3 separate regions of the Homo sapiens genome follow, and all the other regions are linked to region 1. Evidence: promoter capture Hi-C in human tissues and cell types (Jung and others, 2019). All regions are on one chromosome and are shown on one strand. Each heading gives the region's core, a stretch centred on a gene start or on the middle of the fragment in contact. The rest is flanking DNA. Distances are from core to core; before and after follow the strand shown. Region 1 holds the start of FAM135B (family with sequence similarity 135 member B). Region 2 has its middle 35 kb from the start of FAM135B. Region 3 overlaps FAM135B (family with sequence similarity 135 member B).

Region 1 (3,223 bases), core at 67-2,566:
GATTCTTGTTTTGCTGGCAAAGTGGGGTGGGGAGCTAGAAATGAGGTGGGGAGAAGGGGAGGGCATAGTCTTGACTGCTAGCTCAAAATTTTATTTCTATTCCCATCCTATCCCTAATAGTCAACGGCAATAACATGATACTCCTGTGTCCCAAAATAATAACAGTTACTACTTGCCTCGTCTAAACATCCCCTCCAGTGACTGGGCTTGAAGCTGGCTCTACAGATCAAGAGCTGGTCCCTTTCCATGTCACAGCTGAGCTGCAGTGTCCCCGCACACCCCTGTCCCCAGCCAAGCCACAGGAAGAACGGGTCTGTGCATTCGCCTGGATCACAGGGAATCGCTGCCACTGTCCCCTCCACCCCAGTGCGGTCTTCTCCTGAGCCTGGCCCCCGGGTTCCCTGGCTCCAAGGACCCCAATGGCCAAGGTCTGCATGCGCCCCCTCAGCCTCCATCTGGGACTCCTGGGGGGAACCCCTCATTAACCCAGCCTCTCCGCTCCTTTCACAGCCCTGGCCCTTCTTATCCCCTCAAGACCTGTCCAGATGTGCAGCAAACCTGGAGGGCAGAGAGACTGGGGAAAATCGAGGGAGATAAACCACATTTTGCGGCGGAATCGCTGTTCCGTGACAGAAAGCCATCCAACTGGCAACCACGCTTGCAGAAGCGTCACTACCACCGACGAGAGAGTTTTGCAGCTGCCGACCCCGAAGCGCTCTCACCTACCTGTCTCCACTGCAGGGCTCCCCTCTCTCTCCCCCGGGGGCCGCGCTCCTGGGTCCCTCTCTCTCCTCTTTCGCCGTCTCTGGCCGCCAACAGTTGCGGCGGCGGCGGCGGCGGGCGGACTGGGGAGTCCGCAGCACCTGCGAGCTGGTGTTGGGTCCCCGCGGCGAGGCTGCCTGGAGGAGGAGCGAGCGGATGCTGCCCTCGCCCGCCGCCGCCGGTGCTGATGCGGTTGCTATGGTTATGGAACCCCGCAACTGCCCCCCTCTCCGTGCAACAGCTGCCCGGCCGCGGCCTCCGGGCAGCCCCAGCGAGCAGGCGCCAGGACGCGAGGCTGTCAGCGCGGTCGGGGGAACGCAGCCGCCAGCGCCGCAAGAAAGCAAGGACCGACCGGCTGCGCCCGCGCCGCTGGGCTGGCGCCTCCCGGGCTGCGCTCACCTCTGGCGCCCTCACTCCTCTCCTTCCTCCGCCGGGACGCGGCCAGACCCTCCGCGCCGCGCCGCGCGCCCTCGCGGCCGGGAGAGCCCGCCCTGCTGCTCCCGCTGGCTCCGCTCCGCAGCCGCTGCGCACCGCGTGGGTAGACGCTGCGCGACTGGCTGGCGGCGCGGCTCACGCGCTCCCACCTCGGTCCCTCTCCGCCGCGAGGCCCTGATGGGAGCCCGGGGCGGGCCGCCCGGCGGCCAAACCCCGCCCGCTCGGCCGCCCGGGTGCCCAGGGCGCAGGCTGCGGCCCCGCGTGCGGCCCTCCCAGACTGACCGGCGCGAGCATGCTCAGTCCCCGCGGCGGGGCTCCCCTCTCGAGCCAAGACCCCAGGCCTCGGGCAGGAAAAGGGTCCCTGCAGATATCCGGGGGCGGGGCGCGGCGGAGAACTGGCTGGGAGGGGACTGTTGAACTTGGAAGAGAAGCCCAGGCAACAAGTAGATGCCTGAGAAAGGGTAAAAGCGCTGAGCAACCCATACCTCCAATGCGAAGTCAGCAGTGGCCTTCAACCAGCCAGCCGGCCCGTCATCCGATGGGCTCCTCACTTCATGCTGAACGTGGGGGTTCACAGACGTGTGAGATTCTGTCCACGGAGGAGGGAGAGGAAGATTGGGGAGGGTTAAGCCAGCTCCCGTCTACTGAGCATTCTTAAGGGGCATTGGGAACTCTAATTATCACCACCACTGTGCTGGCAAGTTCTCGTGGCATGCCTGTGACAGATGACAAAACAGCCTTAGAGAAGGAGCCAAGACTGGGACTCGGAAGCCCAGTGACCCGTCCACTAGACTCGGCTGCACTAACTCCACCCAGGAGGAGGCAGGGAATGGAACCAGGCATTAGAGGATGACTATGTCCCCCATTAGACTGGGCTGCACTAACTCACACCCCAGGAGGAAGCAGGGAATGGAACCAGGCAATTGCAGTTGGCAGGAGGAGTCTCTAACCCTGTCAGGCTGGGGGCAGGGGCAAGTAATTGGGGAAAGATACCTGAAAAAAAGGTATAAGAACAAATGAGTGGGGCGGTGAAGGGTAGAGAAGACTGCTCTTTCCAGGACAAGAGGAGCAGGGTACAGAGGCCTGGAGGCAGGACAGAACAGCAGGAACCTAGCAGCAGCAGGCAAGGAGAGGTGAGGCAGGCGAGTGGTGAGGTTTACAGGGCAGGCACTGCACACCAAAGGCCTTGCGATCCAAGTGAAGGGGTTGGAATTTGACAATGTGACCCTTAGGATGGGAAGGGAATGGGGAAGGTGGTGGGGAGGAGGGCAGTGAAGCAGTTTAAGCAGGAGAAAGGCTGGGTGGGAATGAAGGGAAGATCACCTTAGTTGAAGTGTGTGTGGTGCTGGCTAGGGTGGGGATTAAGGCTGCAGAAAGAGGTGTCCTAAGGAGGCTGTTGACATAGTGGGCCTGGGCAGATGGAGGCTCTGAGCTATCTACCCTGCTTGTCCTCCCCACAGCACCCAGCAAGCCCAGGGCAATGCATACCCTCAGTAAATGTTTGGTGAATGGCAAATAAATATGAATTTCTCAATAGAGAAAATGGGTGCTTTTCTTTTACAATATTTGTCTCTTAAATGTGTTCATAACCATATGGCATTTATTTTGCTATTGACATTGCATTTTTATGCAACCTTATTTTTGAAAGTCAGTGCAAGCACTCATTATTTTCCTCTGCATTTTCTAGTCCCCAGCAGTAGAGATATGCCAGGAGCATAGGATTTACTTGTATTGGATGTATTGTCTGGATAAAACAGCTCCATGATTTATTAAGTGAAAAAGCAAAGTGCAGAATAGATAAAATAAGATAATATTAAAATAAGACAACTGTTGTGAAACAAGGAGACAGATACACATATTTGTATTGCTTGCATTGGCATAAAAATACGCTAGAAGGCTATGTAAGAAACTTGGAGAAGTAGCTATTAGCTATGAGGGTGAAGATGGGTGGAAGAACTAGGTTGACGAGGTTAGAGTGAGAGTGAGAATTTTGACATACACTATTTTTTTGTTTCTTGAGACAGGG
Region 2 (3,287 bases), core at 81-2,580, 35 kb after region 1:
GTGACTCTGACTTGGGGATATTCTAGCCTCAGCCACCCACATGCCACAAGTAGGTCTTGTATTAGTTAGCTTGTGCTGCATAACAAAACATCCTCAAACTCAGGGCTTTAAAGCCACTATAAGTCTATGCATTGGGAAGTTGGATTCAATTGAGTGGTTCTTTTGCTTGTCTCAGCTGGGTTCACTTACGTATCTGTGAACAGCTGCAGATCAGCTACAAAGCTCTGTTTCTGGGGGCTCTGATATTAATTTTAACTATGATTATAGGGGTATGGGGGTAATGGGAGCAACAGGGGTTCTGTCCTCTTGCAAGTTACCCTGAGCTTGTTTACATGACAGTAGAATTCCAGGAGCAATAAGAAGTAAGCCCCAATATGCAGGGGCTTTTCAATCTCTGCTAATGTCACATTTGCTACAGTTCTTTTGGCTAAAGCAAAAATGTGGCCCCAAGTTCAGATTCAATGTGGAAGGGCACTACAAATGGAAGGGCAACAGGGAGGTATGTACAAATCAGGGCCAAGATACAATCGATCCATCACAGCCCTCCTTAGTGAGACCTTGACTTAAGACCAAGGAGTAAGACTGCTTTATTCATTTCTTCAAGATTCACTTGACTTCAGAAGTTTCATGGCCCTTCCGTGCATTCCTATTGATCACCTCCAGTTTACCTGGACTGCTTCCACGGATCATTACACCCCTTCTGTAGTGATCAGCTTTGCATATTATTTCTCCTGCAACAGAAGACATTTACTCCACTTGCATGAAAGAGAATAGTCAAGTGCATCTTTGCAGAACGATGAAGATGTGATTCAAGGTTATTTTTCTCATGATTGCCAAGAAGTAGCTGATGACTTCTCTTGCTTAAAAAGCCAAACAATAAGATTTCCTACCATATTTGCTATGCACTGTGAAAGTCAAAAGTCATCGTTGCATGTACCCAACTTAAAGTACTTAAAACAATATTTTTCAAAGTAACAACACAAATCAATAGAAATGTGTTGCCTCCTGTAAATAGGAAGTCCCATGGTGAAGCCTGGAGAGGACTTAATCCTAATTTGGTTCTGTTTGTCTCTATCTGGCCACGTTCATCAAAGAGACTTTTCTCATGTAGTAGGCAAAATGGCCCCCAGGAAGTCCTGCTGAAAATAAATTGTCTGCATTAGCAAAAAAATGGGTTAGTGTTCTACAATGTAATAAAACCATAACCTTTGGAGTCATCTTTTCTACAGGACAAATGTCATTTGCATCATTACTAGCAAAGGTGGACAAGTTGAAAGGAAATGCCACACAGAGTTCGATACCTTAAATACCAAATTTCAAAATGAAGCAGAGGTCAATTCCCCCAGATAATTAAATAATGACTGAGTGGACTTGATAAAAAAAAAAATGCCCCATTCTGACACTGTAAGGATTTGCTGCTCGCTCTCAGCCAGCTTTCCAAGTTTTGGATAAGTTTCTTCTATCAGTTGTAAGGTTACCACAGGGAACTCGAAGCACAATGAAAGGTTATGACAGAAATAATCATTCAATGTAGAATAATAAGATTTGGTTACTAACCTGTTAGTGACCTTTCTTTACTTTTTACTAGCTAGTACTTATGCTAGAAAGAAAGCTTTCAAATAATGTTCATATGTTAATTTAAAGTTAGCAATTCAAGGCTGGGCTTGGTGGCCCACACCTGTAATCCTAACACTTTGGGAGGCCGAGGTGGGCGGATCCCTTGAGGTCAGGAGTTTGAGACCAGCCTAGCCAACATGTTAAAACCTGTCTCTACGAGAAATACAAAAACTAGCTGGGCATGGTGGCGCGTGCCTTAATTCCAGCTATTTGGGAGGTCAAGACAGGGGAATCGCTTGAACCGGAGAGGCGGAGGCTGTAGTAAGCTGAGATCGTGCCATCACACTCCAGCCTGGACAACAGAGTGAGACTCCATCTCCAAAAACAAAATAAAATAGAGTTAGCAATTCATATATGATTAGTAATTTATGATAAGTACAGTGAGTTCAGGGTAAGCAGGTTAATTATTGCAAGGATGGATAACAAATTTAACCTCTTTTGACAAATACAGCCACATTAAATAAACAATAATAATTCATAACAACAAATAAATTTTTATAATCTAAAAGTTATAAGCAAATAGGTCTGAAGATATTTTTAAAAATAAATCTTTGAATATAACAGAAAGTTCTTTGTCCTATTAGAAAAGAGACAGAAATTAAACTTTAAGATGACAAGATACAGACTAAAATTCTGTGACTATCTCTCTTATCTTCCTGAACAAAGAATAATGGCTAAGTGCTTTGCATTTTCATCTTTTTAAATGGTCTTATACACTTCCAATGAAAACTGTGGTTTCTGATTTATAATAAAATGTTAATCAAGGCTAACTCATAAGTATGGGAGTCTCATATATTTATAGCTACATTTAGCAAGTAAAATTGACGTAGTAAAGGAAGTGATTATTAAATTCAGGTTTTTAAAAAATGAGCAGGAGCTAAGTCAGCCAGTGCTGGCAGGTAGGATAGGGAATTCCAGACAATGGGAGGAATAAGAGTCAATGCTTCCTGGTAGGTTGGATCTTGCCAAGCTTGAGGAACACAATGAAGGTGAGTGCATCTCTAGAGCACAGCCATCCATGGGCTTGGCCAGAAATAATACTGGAAACAGACTTGCCCTTCCAGGTCAAGGGCTTTGTACATTATCCTAAAATCAATAGGATGGCATTGTGGGTTTTAATACTGAGTTCAGAAGGAAGACCAGGATTAGATGTGTTTTTTGAAGACAACAGTTTGGCTACTATGTCCAATGCCAACTCTGGCCCTAGCTATACCCATTAGGAAGCAAATGAAGTCACTCTGGACAATGGGGCAGACAAATTCAATGGTCGTGGACACAGAAGTAAATGGGCCGACTTATGAAACTGAGAATTAACATAGAGAAGAGGCAAGGAAAAGCATTTAGCTGACATAGCAGAACTAGATGACAGGTTATAAATACATGAATTACAGGAAGAATTCCACCAACAGACAGGCTGTTTTGTACTGCAAAAGAAATTTTATGTAAAAAATTTCAATTTTTGTATTAACTGGGAAAAATCAGATTTGTTAATATTTGAATGACAATTTTCTTTGGCAACTATTTGCTGGAGTTGATAAGTGGCTGACTTTTACACTAGAAAAACACTCTGCATCATCATCCTCCCAAGGCCAATGCACCCTTTATTGTATTACCCTACTTCCTGCATGGATTCACCTACCTAGCCCTATAAATTTACTGGTTTCCCATCT
Region 3 (3,084 bases), core at 208-2,707, 36 kb before region 1:
AAGAAGGCACAAAGCAGCAGTGGCAGGGACAATTATAAATCTCCAGGGCTGCAGGATCCTCAACTCATAAAATTGAAAAGGCACTTCAAAAAATCCTCCATGTCCGTGACAGTCTGTCACTAGAGAGGGCGTTCCTCAGATTATCAACAACCATGAAGCTCTCTAATGCCTTATCAACAGTCTCAAGGACCAGGCGATCATGAGAAACACAGGCTGTATTGATTCAATACTCAAACTGGCGGGATGATGATGATGAATGGTCAGTTTTTCTCTGTCTCATCCTCTTCAAGGATAACTCCACCCTGAACCTCAGCTCTTTCCAGACCCTGACTCAGATCTGGACTGAGGTAGGGCTCAGACTACTGCAGAAGGGGCCCTGGCATTGTGCAGCCAAAGCTCCTATACTCAGAGAGCTTGGGTTTTCCTGTTTCCTCTTCCAAGCTATGGCAAAGGGAACTGGAGAGATAAGAAGCAGGCCCCCTCTGAAAGTCTGTGAGTCACTTTAAAATAGAGATTGGCCATGGACCCTGGGTCCAGAATGCATCAGTTTAAATCCCAGGCAGCCTAAGGGAGTTACTTCACCCATCCTTGTACTCTGCTCCATCAGCTGTAAAATGAATAGAACCATAGAACTTTCCTCCTCAATTTGAGATAAGGATGATCTGATTTAATATATGCAAAAGCACTGTGAATAAGGCCGGCCCATAGGAAGCATCCTGTAAGGATTAACTATTGTTTCTTTGCTGTACCAATAGTTTAAGCCCTTTCTTTGGGTGATACACCATGCTAAGCAGTTTCTGTTCATTATCCATTCCACTCATTATCACATTTATTACTAGAAGGCAGACACAATACCTACATTTTGCAGATGAGGACGCTGAGGCACAGGTAAGGGACATAATTTGCTTAGAGGCACATGGCTAGTAAGCAGTGCAGCCAGGAATGGAAGATTCCATAGACTGTCTGGCTTCAAAGCCTATGAGTTCAACAACCCAGTGCTATGCTGCAGTGCCTGAGACACCCACAGCCCCAGAAGCTAAAGCCTTCTTCCAAATGCAAAACAGCAGCCTGGAGGGTGAAACACACCTACCCTGGAAGTGAAGATAAAGGGACATGGCAAAGGTCTCAGAGCCAATTCACACCAACAGGGCCTTCACCCAAACATGGCAGGGACTGTCTAACCCAAGAGCTGTTTATTCTCAGGCCTCCCCATGCCTCAGAGTATACATTTGTGCCTGCTTCAGACTATTAAGATTGGGGAAAAGAAGACAGTTATTCATTCTCCAGCATTTCTTCCAGGATGCTCCTCTAGGTGACTCCATTTTGACTAATGAAATAAAAGAATAAATATTCTGGGAGGCTTCTGGAAGGATTTTTTTTTCTATAAAAAAAGAACAGACAAGGAAGAAAAATGGCTGGTGCTGCACTCCTCTTTTCTTCTTCCCTGAACAGAGATGTGACGTTGGGAGCTGTGGTCATTCTACTGCAACAATGTGACAACAAGGCAATAGCTAAGGACGGCAAAGAATAACTCCACCCTGAACCTCAGCTCTTTATAGACCCTGATTCAGATCTGGACTGAGGTAGGGCTCAGACTCCTGCAGAGCGGGGCCTGGCATCATACAGCCAAAGCTCCTGTATTCAGACAGCTTGGGTTTTCCTATTTTCTCTTCCAATCCACAGCAAAGGGAACCGGTGAGATAAGGATCAGATGCTCATTTAAAAAACAGGGAGTTAATCCTTTGTTATAAGTTTCTTTTTTTTAATGTCAGTCACTGGTCACTTCCAGGCTAGTTAAATAAACAGGAGTTGAAGCCACTATTAGTCATGGATACTCTTACGTTAAGCTGACAGCAGTCCTGGCTCACACTGCAAGGCAGCTGAGATATGCAGGGGTGTTAAGCACACACCTGAGCCAGGAAGTGGACCAGGGTGCTGGGGATGCATCCTGGTCATCAAGGAAACAACTCACCAATTCTCATTTGTAAAATAAGGAAATAAAGCCAGATGTCAGCAAAGGTCTGTTTCAGTTCTAAGATGTTATGACTTTTTGTAGTGAAGAGATTACAAAAATTCCTTTCCAGAGGATTTGAGAAGCCCAGTGACATGATGAAGGCAGAGTACACACACAATAAATTACCACAAACATATTTAAACATGACCTCAGGATTGACATTTAACTTCTCTTGGTTTTCAAGTCCATGTCAAGGTATGCAAATGAAATGTTAAGCCAATACTCTAATTCTGTAGAGCTAGCTATTTAGCACCTGTGCAAGGTTCCTTATACATATTGCATTTAACCCTGAACAGAACACTATGAAATGAATAGGATCACTCTCTGATAAAAAATGAAGCTCAGACGTCAGTAGTCTATGTAAATCATCCTAGGACCTCACAGACAACCATGACTATTGGGATTTAAACCCAGGCCTGCCTTCCTCTACAAGACATAGCCACATTGGCACTGTCCCTTGATTTCTTTTTAAAACCAGCACATACTCAAAAATGCTGATCTTCTCTCTGTATCGTTCAACCCACGAGGGTGGGAGAAGGTTGCTAATAACCGCCCACCCAGAGCAGCATGATTCATGTGGCTGTCATCCTGCCCGAATGACACAGATGAGCTGTCAGCCTTCTCTCAGAAGCCTGACTCAACTCTATGACCAGCTGAATCAATTATCCAAGGTTGGCTTGATAGATGATGATAATAATGATGATGATGATAATGATGATGATAAATCCATCAATGTAAATACTTCCAGAAACAAAGTAGAAATGAGAAGAAAAAGAAAGAAAACAAAGTATTGCATATCTATGTAATATGTTATACATTAAAAGTATTCCACATATATGTATATATGTACATATATGTGGAATACTTGTTTTCTTTCTCTTTCTACTGATTTCTACTTGTCATATACCAAAGGCCATTTGGGGACAACACATTGTTCCATTGATCTTGGCATTTATTTTTGTTTTCGTAACTGTGCAGAATACTTTCCTATTTGGTAGAGCAAGTTACATCTAAGTTCTTTCAAGGATTCATGAGGGTGGGATAAAGGTTCCAGTGTTCTGCTATGAATG

The links. Contacts are between HindIII fragments. The study calls those that stand out against the background at their distance.
Region 2: a contact is called between a fragment that was not itself captured here and the fragment with the promoter of FAM135B in region 1, in 3 of the 25 tissues and cell types used here (pancreas, spleen and stomach).
Region 3: a contact is called between a fragment that was not itself captured here and the fragment with the promoter of FAM135B in region 1, in 3 of the 25 tissues and cell types used here (adrenal gland, dorsolateral prefrontal cortex and spleen).

What each region holds. Positions count from the first base shown.
Region 1 is chr8:138,495,945-138,499,167 of GRCh38, forward strand. FAM135B (family with sequence similarity 135 member B) reads right to left here and starts at 1,317. Exons shown (of 20, transcript NM_015912.4): 1 at 727-1,317. The HindIII fragment of the contact is 12,849 bases long and covers 1-3,223 here.
Region 2 is chr8:138,530,909-138,534,195 of GRCh38, forward strand. No RefSeq gene overlaps it. Among named protein-coding and RNA genes, the nearest start is that of FAM135B, 35 kb to the left of the region's middle. The HindIII fragment of the contact is 3,849 bases long and covers 1-3,255 here.
Region 3 is chr8:138,459,338-138,462,421 of GRCh38, forward strand. All of the region lies in intron 1 of FAM135B (family with sequence similarity 135 member B), which reads right to left. Among named protein-coding and RNA genes, the nearest start is that of FAM135B, 36 kb to the right of the region's middle. The HindIII fragment of the contact is 7,584 bases long and covers 1-3,084 here.